3 separate regions of the Homo sapiens genome follow, and all the other regions are linked to region 2. The links are contacts of gene promoters, found by promoter capture Hi-C in blood cells and fetal thymus (Javierre and others, 2016). All regions are on one chromosome and are shown on one strand. The core of a region is centred on a gene start or on the middle of the fragment in contact, and the rest is flanking DNA. Distances in the headings are between cores, read along the strand shown. Region 1 has its middle 21 kb from the start of GIHCG. Region 2 holds the start of CTDSP2-AS1 (CTDSP2 antisense RNA 1). Region 3 overlaps AGAP2 (ArfGAP with GTPase domain, ankyrin repeat and PH domain 2).

The links. The method cuts DNA at HindIII sites, captures the fragments that hold promoters and counts their contacts. A CHiCAGO score of 5 or more calls a contact.
Region 1: a fragment that was not itself captured here is called in contact with the fragment with the promoter of CTDSP2-AS1 in region 2 in 16 of 17 cell types (activated CD4 T cells, M2 macrophages, M0 macrophages and 13 more); the score reaches 24.3 in activated CD4 T cells.
Region 3: a contact is called between a fragment that was not itself captured here and the fragment with the promoter of CTDSP2-AS1 in region 2, in 3 of 17 cell types (total CD8 T cells, non-activated CD4 T cells and naive CD4 T cells). The highest score is 7.2, in total CD8 T cells.

Annotation. Positions count from the first base shown.
Region 1 is chr12:57,913,634-57,916,736 of GRCh38, forward strand. No RefSeq gene overlaps it. Among named protein-coding and RNA genes, the nearest start is that of GIHCG, 21 kb to the right of the region's middle. The HindIII fragment of the contact is 9,190 bases long and covers 1-3,103 here.
Region 2 is chr12:57,835,432-57,838,706 of GRCh38, forward strand. CTDSP2-AS1 (CTDSP2 antisense RNA 1) reads left to right here and starts at 1,660. Exons shown (of 2, transcript NR_188077.1): 1 at 1,660-1,783. All of the region lies in intron 1 of CTDSP2 (CTD small phosphatase 2), which reads right to left. RefSeq lists enhancers at 1,890-1,959, 2,549-3,169, 2,750-2,859, 2,920-2,999. The HindIII fragment of the contact is 9,495 bases long and covers 1-3,275 here.
Region 3 is chr12:57,732,747-57,736,006 of GRCh38, forward strand. It overlaps AGAP2 (ArfGAP with GTPase domain, ankyrin repeat and PH domain 2), which reads right to left. Exons shown (of 19, transcript NM_001122772.3): 2 at 2,623-2,681; 3 at 1,846-1,933; 4 at 1,573-1,658; 5 at 1,280-1,427; 6 at 99-233. Among named protein-coding and RNA genes, the nearest start is that of AGAP2, 4.4 kb to the right of the region's middle. RefSeq lists an enhancer at 884-2,083. The HindIII fragment of the contact is 5,376 bases long and covers 1-3,260 here.

The DNA.
Region 1 (3,103 bases), core at 48-2,547, 78 kb after region 2:
GGAAGATCATCTTCCCACCCCATCCCCCTTTCAGTTCCCCATCCATGCCTCTGAGCGCCATCTCCACCATTCAATAAAACCCCTGCATTCATCCTTCAAGTCCATGTGTGACCTGATTCTTCCGGGACACTGGACAAGAGCTCAGGATGCAGAAAGCTGCCACACTGGCCCTCTGCCCTTGCAAAAAGGCAGAGGGTCCACTGAGCTGGTTAACACTAGCAAGGCTAAAAGCGCACACTGTAACACATGCCTGTTGGGTTCCAAGAGTCACAGGCTCCCAACCCTGGATGCTGCCATGGGGCCGGAGCCCAGCACCCTGGCTCCTTCACATGTCCATCTGTGTGCTCCCCATCCTGTAAGGGGTTTGATCAGTGGCAGCGACCTAACAGATGAGCCACACCCCTGTCACATGTCCTGCAAGGGGGGTCAGGGAACTCTCCTATTTCACTACTAATATGTCAGACACTAAAACCATCTTTATTAATCCTGCAACAACTCTGCAAGGTAGATCTTTTAAAAAATTTTTATTTTCATTTCAATTTTTTTTGGGGTACAGATGGCTTTTGGTTATATGGGTAAGTTCTTTAGTGGTGATATCTGAGATTTTAGTGTACCCATCACTTGAGCAGTGTACACCATACCCAATGTATAGTCTTTTATCTCTCACCCCTCCCAACCTTCTCCCCACAAGTCCCCAAAGTCTTCCCACGAATTTTCTTATGCCTTTGCGTCCTCACAGCCTAGCTCCCACTTATGAGAACCTATGATATTTGGTTTTCCATTCCTGAGTTACTTCACTTAGAATAATGACCTCCAGCTCCATCCAAGTTGCTGCAAAATACATCATTTCATTCCTGCAAGGTAAATCTTATTATCTCTATTTAACAGATGAAGACACAGACTTAGAGGGGCTATATAACATGCCCAAGCTCATAAAGATCATCAAAGCAGAGCCAAAAGTCAAACGTATTGTTTTTATCCAAAGCCTGTGCTGTTTCCAGGATAACTATGCAGCCTCCATCAGGCTGGGGAAGGAGAGGACCCAGATGGGCTTGTTGAAGTACCAGTGGGTAATTGGTGAAGTGGCCAAGGGTAGGAGGAGTGCAGGGTAAGAAAGAAAGAGCAAGGGAAGGAAGTTGAGGTGTGGCATAAGCAGGGAAAGCTGTTGGATGCAGGGTTGGAGTTAGTGGGGGTGGTTTCCTCCACCCTCCACAGGTCGATGGCTTGAAGGCTAGCCAGGCAGGTGGACTTTGAGGAAGAAGACATGAGTGAGGTGCTTGAGTCCCTTAAAGAGGAGTTGTGGCTCCTGGCTGGTTCTACAATATTGCTCATTGACAGATGGGCCTTTTCCTGCGTGGGATTCTGAGGATGGTAAGAACAAAGTGAGGGTTAAAGGCGTGTGCCCACTCTAGTCAGTCAACAGCTTTGAGCTTCTTGAGATTTGCAATGTGCATTCAGTCAGTTCCAAGCAACCTTTGATGTTAGCTGTCTTCTCCTGGCACATAGTTCTTGATAATGTTTAGTTTCACATCCATAGGTTTAGCTTTTTCCCTGTTCCTTGGTGTCAGAGTTTCAAAACAGTGAAAATTTTTTCTTACATGATGAAAATATGTGAATAAAACAGACACATTTTGCAAGAAAGACAAACACAACACAATACCAGTCTCAAGACACTGACAAGCATAAGGGGTATGTGGGTATCTATTTGAGTGGTTATCCCCAGGGCATAATATTTTCACTATATCCTACTGCTGGGGTGGCAGCCAGACTGACTACATGATAGGGGCTGGGTGCTTGCCTTCTTCTAGGTCCCATACTGTTTCAAAGTATAGTTGAAAAAAAAAAAAAAGAAGGAAAAATTCCAAATAGAGAATCGACATGGTTCTAAATCCACATAATATAAACTCATGGATGCAAGCTGCTCATGATTCCACAGACCTTTACCTAAAATTCTTTTGGAAAATGCATCAATTTTAGGATATATAGATAGACATGATGATTACAGTTGTATTTTTTTAAAAGTGAGTATTACCAGTAGTTTAAAAAACACTGTGGCCGGGCACAGTGGCTTACACCTGTAATCCCAGCAATTTGGGAGGCTGAGGTGGGCTGATCACAAGAGGTTGGGAGTTCGAGACCAGCCTGGCTAACATGGTGAAACCCCGTCTCTACTAAAAATACAAAAATTAGCTGGGTGTGGTGGTGGGTGCCTGTAACCCCAGCTACTCAGGAGGCTGAAGCAGGAGAATGGCTTGAACCTGGCAGGCAGAGGTTGCAGTGAGCCGAGATCGTGCCACTGCACTCCAGCCTGGGCGACAGAGCGAGACTCTGTCTCAAGAAAGAAAGAAAGAAAGAAACAAACAAACAAACAAAAAAACCCACTGTGGGCTGGGTGCAGTGTCTCACGTCTATAAACCAGCATTTTGGGAGGCTGAGGCATACGGATTGCTTGAGCTCAGGAGTTTGATACCAGCCAGGGCAACATAGTAAGACACTGTCTCTACAATTTTTTTTTTTATATCATTCTGGTGTGTGGTAGCTTATACCTGTAGTCCCACCTACTTCGGGGGCTGAGATGGGAGGATCGCTTGAGACATGGAGGTTGACATTGCAGCGAGCTATAATTGCACCACTGCACTCCAGCCTGGGCAACAGAGCAAGAACCTGTCTCAAAAGAAAAAGAACCACTCCCTCCACAAAAAAACAAACCAAAAACACAACACTGTGACCTTTGTCAGGTAGGCTATGGAAAAACAGGCATTCTCATAGATTGCTGGTACTAAATGCAAAATGACATAATCCCCATAGTTTGGCAACATCTATGAAAACTACATATAAGTTTACCCTTTGACCCAGTGATCTTACTTCTTTTTGTTGTTGTTGCTTTTTGAGATGGAGTCTTACTCTGTTGCCCAGGCTGGAGTGCAGTGGTGCGATCTCAGCTCACTGCAACCTCCGCCTCCTGAGTTCAAGCCATTCTCCTGCCTCAGCCTCCTGAGTAGCTGGGATTACAGTCGTGTGCCACCATGCCTGGTTAATTTTTGTATTTTTAGTAGGACCGAGTTTCATCATGTTGTCCAGGCTGGTCTCGAACTCCTTACCT
Region 2 (3,275 bases), core at 410-2,909:
CAGGCATGAGCCACCATGCCTGGCCCCCGTAGGAAATTCATTGCACATGGTTTCCCCAACCAGGGAGGGCAGGACTCCAGCGGATGCCATGTAGCCCAACTACGAGCTGCTCTCCCTCCTTCATTCCCTGCTACCCTCTGCGGACACCCAGCCCTCCTCTTCTGCCCAGATGCAGATGTGCTTCTGCTTTCTCTGCCCCAAACATTTGGTTTGGGGCTAGATGTCTGAGAGGACTAGCACAGACCCAATGAGGGAAGCAGCTCTGGCTTAAGAAGAAAGTGAGCTGGTGGCTGAAGACAGGGAAACCAGGCCAGCCATCCAGCTCACTGCTGCGAGTCTTCCTACTGAGGCGGGGTGTGAGGAGAAGAGGGGATGTGAGGAGTATGCCCCCACTGAGGATCATCAGGGCTGGGGTCCAGGCTCTGCCAGTTACTGACTCAGCCACACAGCCTTTTGGAGCCTTAGTTTCCTCATCCATAAACTGGGATAACAGCAAGCCCTCACTCAGGACTGAAAGGATAAACGAAGTTAGAGAGTAAGGCACTGTGCTAACTCTAAAGCTAAATGCTGCGCTTGTTTTAATTAATTATCCAAGGGGAGATGACCACTAAATGGCAACATCATGGGCCTCATTCCAGGAGGCCAGCAACAGACCAGGAGCCCTCCCACCATCATCACGTGGATGAAGCCCAAGAAGATGAGGGAAAGGTGCCTGAGAGCTCTGATCATGAGCAGGTTTCAGAAAGTCAAAATAGCCCCTATACCTTCTCCCAAGTCCACAACAAAATTTGTTTTCCAGCTCACAAACTCCCTGACTGGGTATTCTGTGAAAAACAAAAGCAAGTAAGACTGTTTCACTTGAGACAAAAATCGCTGTCTCCCCTGGTATTCATCCCCACTACTCTCAAGAAGTACCAGGTAAGGACACTATTTGCCCCTATGCATGGGCCGGGGTAGGTGGCTCAAGCCTGTAATCCCAGCACTTTGGGAAGCTGGGCCGGTTGGATCACTGCAGCTCAGGAGTTCAAGACCAGCCTGAGCAACATGGCAAAATCCTGTTCTACCAAAAAAAAATTAGCCAGGTGCACCTGCAGTCCCAGCTTGGCAGGCTGAAGTGGGAGAATCACCGGAGCCCAGGAGTTTGAGGCTGCGGTAAGCCGTGATTGCACCACTGCACTCCAGCCTGGGTGACAGAGTGAGATTTTGTCTTTAAAAAAAAAAAGTGTACATGTACAAACACGTGAACACGTGCACACATACACACAAACGAAGACCAGAGTGACCAGGGCAACACTGTTTTTAATCTTCTCCTGAAAGTCAGGTCCAGATACCACTTTTGTCAACAACACAGCTTTGTGTCCCAGCAAAGGAACTCCTCACACATCTGCCTGCGATTCAGCAGAAGGTAACCTCTGAGACAATCAGATTTTAACAAGCCCATTCAGGTAGAAAGTTGCTTTCTTTTTTGGTTCATCCCCAGAAGTACTTCCTTCCCCACCACCTCCCATCCCCCACAGCAAAGGACTTAGCCTTAGCCTGGCTATCACTATAAAATGGCCCCTCTGAGGGGCCTCCTTCCTCTCAGCTATTGGAGGAAGGAGAGTATTTGGAGCATTTCCGGCCCTTCTTGGACGGCTGCCTGAACCCTGCAGCCAAGACACATTTGACTGGGACTCCCCCATGGAGAGAAGTCCTCCCAGGTCCTCTGCAAGGGGCATCTGTTCCTTGGCTATGGACATGCCCTAAAGTGCCAGGTGGACGGAAGAGCTCCTGGGACCAGCAGGTGAGTCGGCAGGGAACAAAAGAGGGTGAGATGCCTAGACAGCCCCCACACACAAAAGACTGCAAACAATGGGGAGGGTGTACTGCTTTCATGCCTGGCCACTGACACTGTTCTCTACAGCTAACAAGCAAGGCAGGGCCGGACCCAGCTTAGCACCGGCTCCCGAAGTTCCAAAAAGTAGCTGTGTATCTAACTGCATGGGCATTTTTTGAAAAAAGCAGTTTTAACACTTTGGGGGGCAAAGGCAGTGGGGATCACTTAAGGTCAGAAGTTCGAGACCAGCATGACCAATATGGTGAAACCCCATCTTTACTAAAAATGCAAAAATTAGCAGGGTATGGTAGTGAGCTCCTGTAATCCCAGCTACTCCGGAGGCTGAGGCACGAGAATCACTTGAATCCAAGAGGTGGAGGTTGCAGTGAGCCGAGATCACACCATTGCACTCCAGCCTGGGGGACAGAGCAAAACTCTGTCTCAAAATAAATAAATAAATAAATAAAATTTAAAAAATTAAAAAGCAGTTTTAGCCATGCTGTTTGGCCCATACCAGCATGTTGTATGCTGGTGCCCTCTCTGCACCAGCAACTGGGGCAGCTCTACCTAAGCCAGTGTCTCCATTAGTTCCCTTTCCCTGGGCAGGAGAGCTCCCTATATGGCTGTCTCTTCTTTCAGACCTGAGTCCTTAATGCCACCTGTGGGGCGAGGGTCACAGGTCACACACTTTCTTGTCTCTGCCCCTTCAGCAATCTGTTCTCTGACCTCAGCTAGAGAGGTAAGAGGACTCAGTTTTGGGAGCAGGGGATTTCTGGCAGTTCTAAAGCACGCTGATTTCAGAATCAGCCTCTAAAGGAGGTATTGCCAAAACACCCTCCTGGGCAGCTCCAACGTACTTTAAAAACGTGCTGGGTTGGGGTGGGCCTCCATAAGTAGCAGATCCTGGACCAGAGACAGAGGAGGCGTTTCCTCATAGACAAGTCAGCTGCAGGCTCAGCCCTGCAAGCCCCACTCCAGAGGACTCTTGAGGGATGTCAGGAAGTGATCTAATAGCCCACAGGGCAGCAGGGACAAGCCTGAGATGCCATCCAAGAAAACTCAAAGGACTGGATCCTGCCCCTGCCTCAGCAGGAGACCCTGCCCTATGTAGCACCAGCCAGAGCAAAGGTATCATTGTGAGGGATTGGAAACCACACTTGCCTACCTGGAGTTACCCCTCCTTCCCCCTAAGGAGGTGTATAACAAGCCCCTGTGGGAGGGGCTACACACAGACAACCTCTCAGTGAGTGTTTCAAGTTCCTGCCTTAGTGCTGTGCCCTTGACTCCTGGAATGCTTAGATATAGTTGAAGCCTAGGAAGAATCCACTGCTTCTTTCCCTTCCAGGTATGTAGGCCTGCTTTAGGTTGATACAAACGTGAGCTGGAGAAAGCAGTGAGGACACAGGACAAAGCAAGGGTATCTGTTCTGACCAGGGAAAAATACAGTGGTGACACAAGG
Region 3 (3,260 bases), core at 301-2,800, 100 kb before region 2:
CTGTCACTCACAGAGAGAGGCCTGGATGCCTGACCACTGAGAATATCCCAGGCCCCTTGCTCTGGCTTCCCACATATGCTGGAGATCACTACACTCACCCTCCTGGAAGACCCGATCCACATTGAGCCCATAGGTTGCACAAGTCTCATAGTAGCTGCAGCGTTTCATGTCCGCGCACAGAGCTCTGGCACGAGCATCTCCCACCACCCGAGGGGAGGAAGCACTGATCCTGTCTGAGGGGACAGGAAAGGGGCAGGATTGAACAAGGAGCCCCACCTTGTTCGATTTTTCACAATTCCCTTATCCTTGCACTGGGCCCTCAGGCTGGGTCCACTGGGGATGGGGTGTGAGAGATCATCTTTTCTGTGACCAGGTGGAATGGGAGTACATAAGCCCTTTCTGAGTACTGGGCCCAGTTCACACACCTAGCTGGGTGAGCTGTGTGTGTGTGTGTGTGTGTGTGTGTGTCCTCAAGGAATACTCCAGAGCTGCTGAGTGGTGCTTCCTGACAAGGTCTACATAGCTGAGACCCAGGCGCGAGCGACAATCACCCTGCCCTGCAAATCCATAGAACCCTGAACTGGTGGGAGGACACCAGCTTGTGAACTAGGAAAAGGTTGGGTGCCCATGGGTCATGGCTGGACTGCCCACTCTGCAGCAAGAAACCAGGATGCAAGCAACAGGTGGAGATAGGCACCAGCAGAACAGGCATCCAGACCAAGTCCCACCAGCTCGACACAGGGGAGTGCTGGAAAAGCATTTCCTGGCCCTGGCAGAGTCTGGGAGCCTCTGAGTCACTTCTCTGAGAACTAAAAGGTTTTCTGCTCTCTTCTTTTCATCATCATTTCCTTTGTGTTTTCACTTTGTTTTTGGATAAGTTCCTTTAAAAGGTGTCAGCCTTACCCAGCTGTCGCAAAAAGGAAGATGGAAAAGGTTTCCTATCCACCCTAGGACTTGAGATTTTCTGTGTCCTAGGATGGTGGCACTAGGAAATGGCAGTGTCAGAACACAAGGTAGGTGACATTTCAGGAGAGGCAAGGAGATGGCTACTATAGCTGTCCTTTCCTCCCTGGAGATCCCCTTTTCTCTGCTCAGACCTTGGGAAGTTATTGTTTGGTTTCATGACTCCCTTATTTGGAGACCAGGCTCCCTCCAGAAGGGTACTATAATCCAAGTGGCCATTTCCACACCTTACCAAGTTCTCACCCATGTTGGGCAATATCCCAGTAGCCTCCTTAGGGCCTCCCTTGAAAGCAGTGCTTTCCTAACCCCTCCTTACCTTGTGTCCCCACCAGTGCCAAGGCCAGGCCTCCTCGTCCCTCCCCGCGAAGGGAACTCAGCTGCCCATGGAGACGGCTCACAGCCTGGAAACTGTTCTCATCCTCCAGGCTGAAGACGAAGATCACAGCATCTGCCCAGCCTGAGAACTTGCGGGGAGTGAGGGAGCAAATGGAAAGTCAGACAGGTCTACTCCTCTGGACCCAATCCAGATGAAGACCTGGGAAACCAGAGCCCTCTCCTTTGGCCAGTGCTGACCCCAGCCAGCCTGTCCCCCACCACCTCCACCCTCACCTTGGCATCAGGTGCCCCAGCTTCCTCTCGGATTAGCACCAGATGTGTCTGTCCATCCACCAACATTTCTTTCTTGTACTGCTCACCTGTCCAGAAGAGTTGGAAGGGGTAACAGGTCAGAGGTGACAGGTCACCAAACCTCCCCATGCTCCCAGTGCTTTTGCTATTATGGCCTCATCCTTCCCCCCTGGTCTCCACACCTGCCTAATCATTGATCTCACTCCTGGATCCCTGACCCCAATGGTTAGCTTACTATGGCTCTTCAGAACTCACTCTCTGTCTTCTCCAGCACCTGGTATGAGCCAGTCAGGAATCGGTGGATGAGCGATGACTTCCCACTCCTGGCATCGCCCAGCACACCCTGAGGGCAAGGTTGTGGAGCAGAAATTGTGGGATATAAGAGAAGGCAGGATGCATGGGTCTGGACACTCCAGAAAACCCAGAGAGATAAGTCATCCAAGCAGGACCCTACAGGGCCTGGATGACAGTCATTCCAGAGAGAGCAGTTGGGAGGATCAGAGCAGCTGGGGGGATCAGAGCAGTTGGGAGGATCAGGGCATGAGTGTGGTAAGAAATGATCCCAAGCTCAAAGTGGAGCACGAGCTGAAGAATGTCAGCAATTCAGTACCAGCTTTTTTGTGTGTTGGGTTGTTTAGAAAACATACTAGATATGTTGTGTGTGTGTGTCTCTGTGTGTGTGTGTTTGTAGCATGTCACAGCTCTAGGCACTAGTTGGAAAACTTTACCCAATTCTAGGCAGTACAACATGAAGGCCAAAGGGCAGATACCAGAAATGAGAAGCCTGGAGGAGGACCATGAACAAACAGGAAAAAGGGGATGGCTGCATAAAGACTAGATAGGAAAAACTTGTGAGGAGGCTGTAGCAAACCCCATGTTGGTGCTATGAAGGCAGACTCTCAGGAGAACTGGAAAACGATTCCCTATTCCCAAAGAGAGAGAGAGAGAGAAGGAGAGGTGAAGGGAGAGAGCTGAGAGTGCAGTGGGTGGGAGGTCAGCCTTCCCTATAGGCAAGGGGACTGGGTTACCTACCAGGCGCAGTTCAGGAATGGAGCGGCTCAAAGTCCATTCCTGGCTATTGATCACAGCCTCTGTAACGGGAGAAGGGCAGTAAGAGGGGAGGCTCCTGGCTCAGAAGGACCCCCAACACTGAGCCACCCCTCCTCCCTCTGCAGCTTTCCAACCCCCCCCCAACCCTGCCTGCACTGGAGAGGTGTGTGCAACAGACAGGTTTGAGGGTGGTCCCCAGGCCTCCCATCCCAGCCACTCTCCCCCAGCTGTTGCTGCCGCTCAGTGGTTGCTTAGCAACGGAGCTAGCAAGACAAAAATACTTCAGTTGGCATCTCCCTTAAAGCACATCCCCAAACGCGGGTCCTGGCCCCAGACAGGGAGACCAGGGCTCTGACAGTGGCAGGTTCTTCCCTCTGGAAAAAGAATAGAAGAGGAGCTCCTCCCTAACCCACTGGTTCCCAGGGCAGACCCTGGGAGGAGGTGCTGAAACACAGAAGAGAGTGTGTCTTCCCCAACCTCCATTCCACAGGAGAGAAACTGAGGTGAGGGGTTTCCCTCCCCTTCTTCAAGGTCAACGGCACTGTAGCCCTGGACCCCTCCCCACAGCCCAAGGGAAAGAGCTAGGATTTTCCTATGCCTCCATCTCCCACACCCTCCCC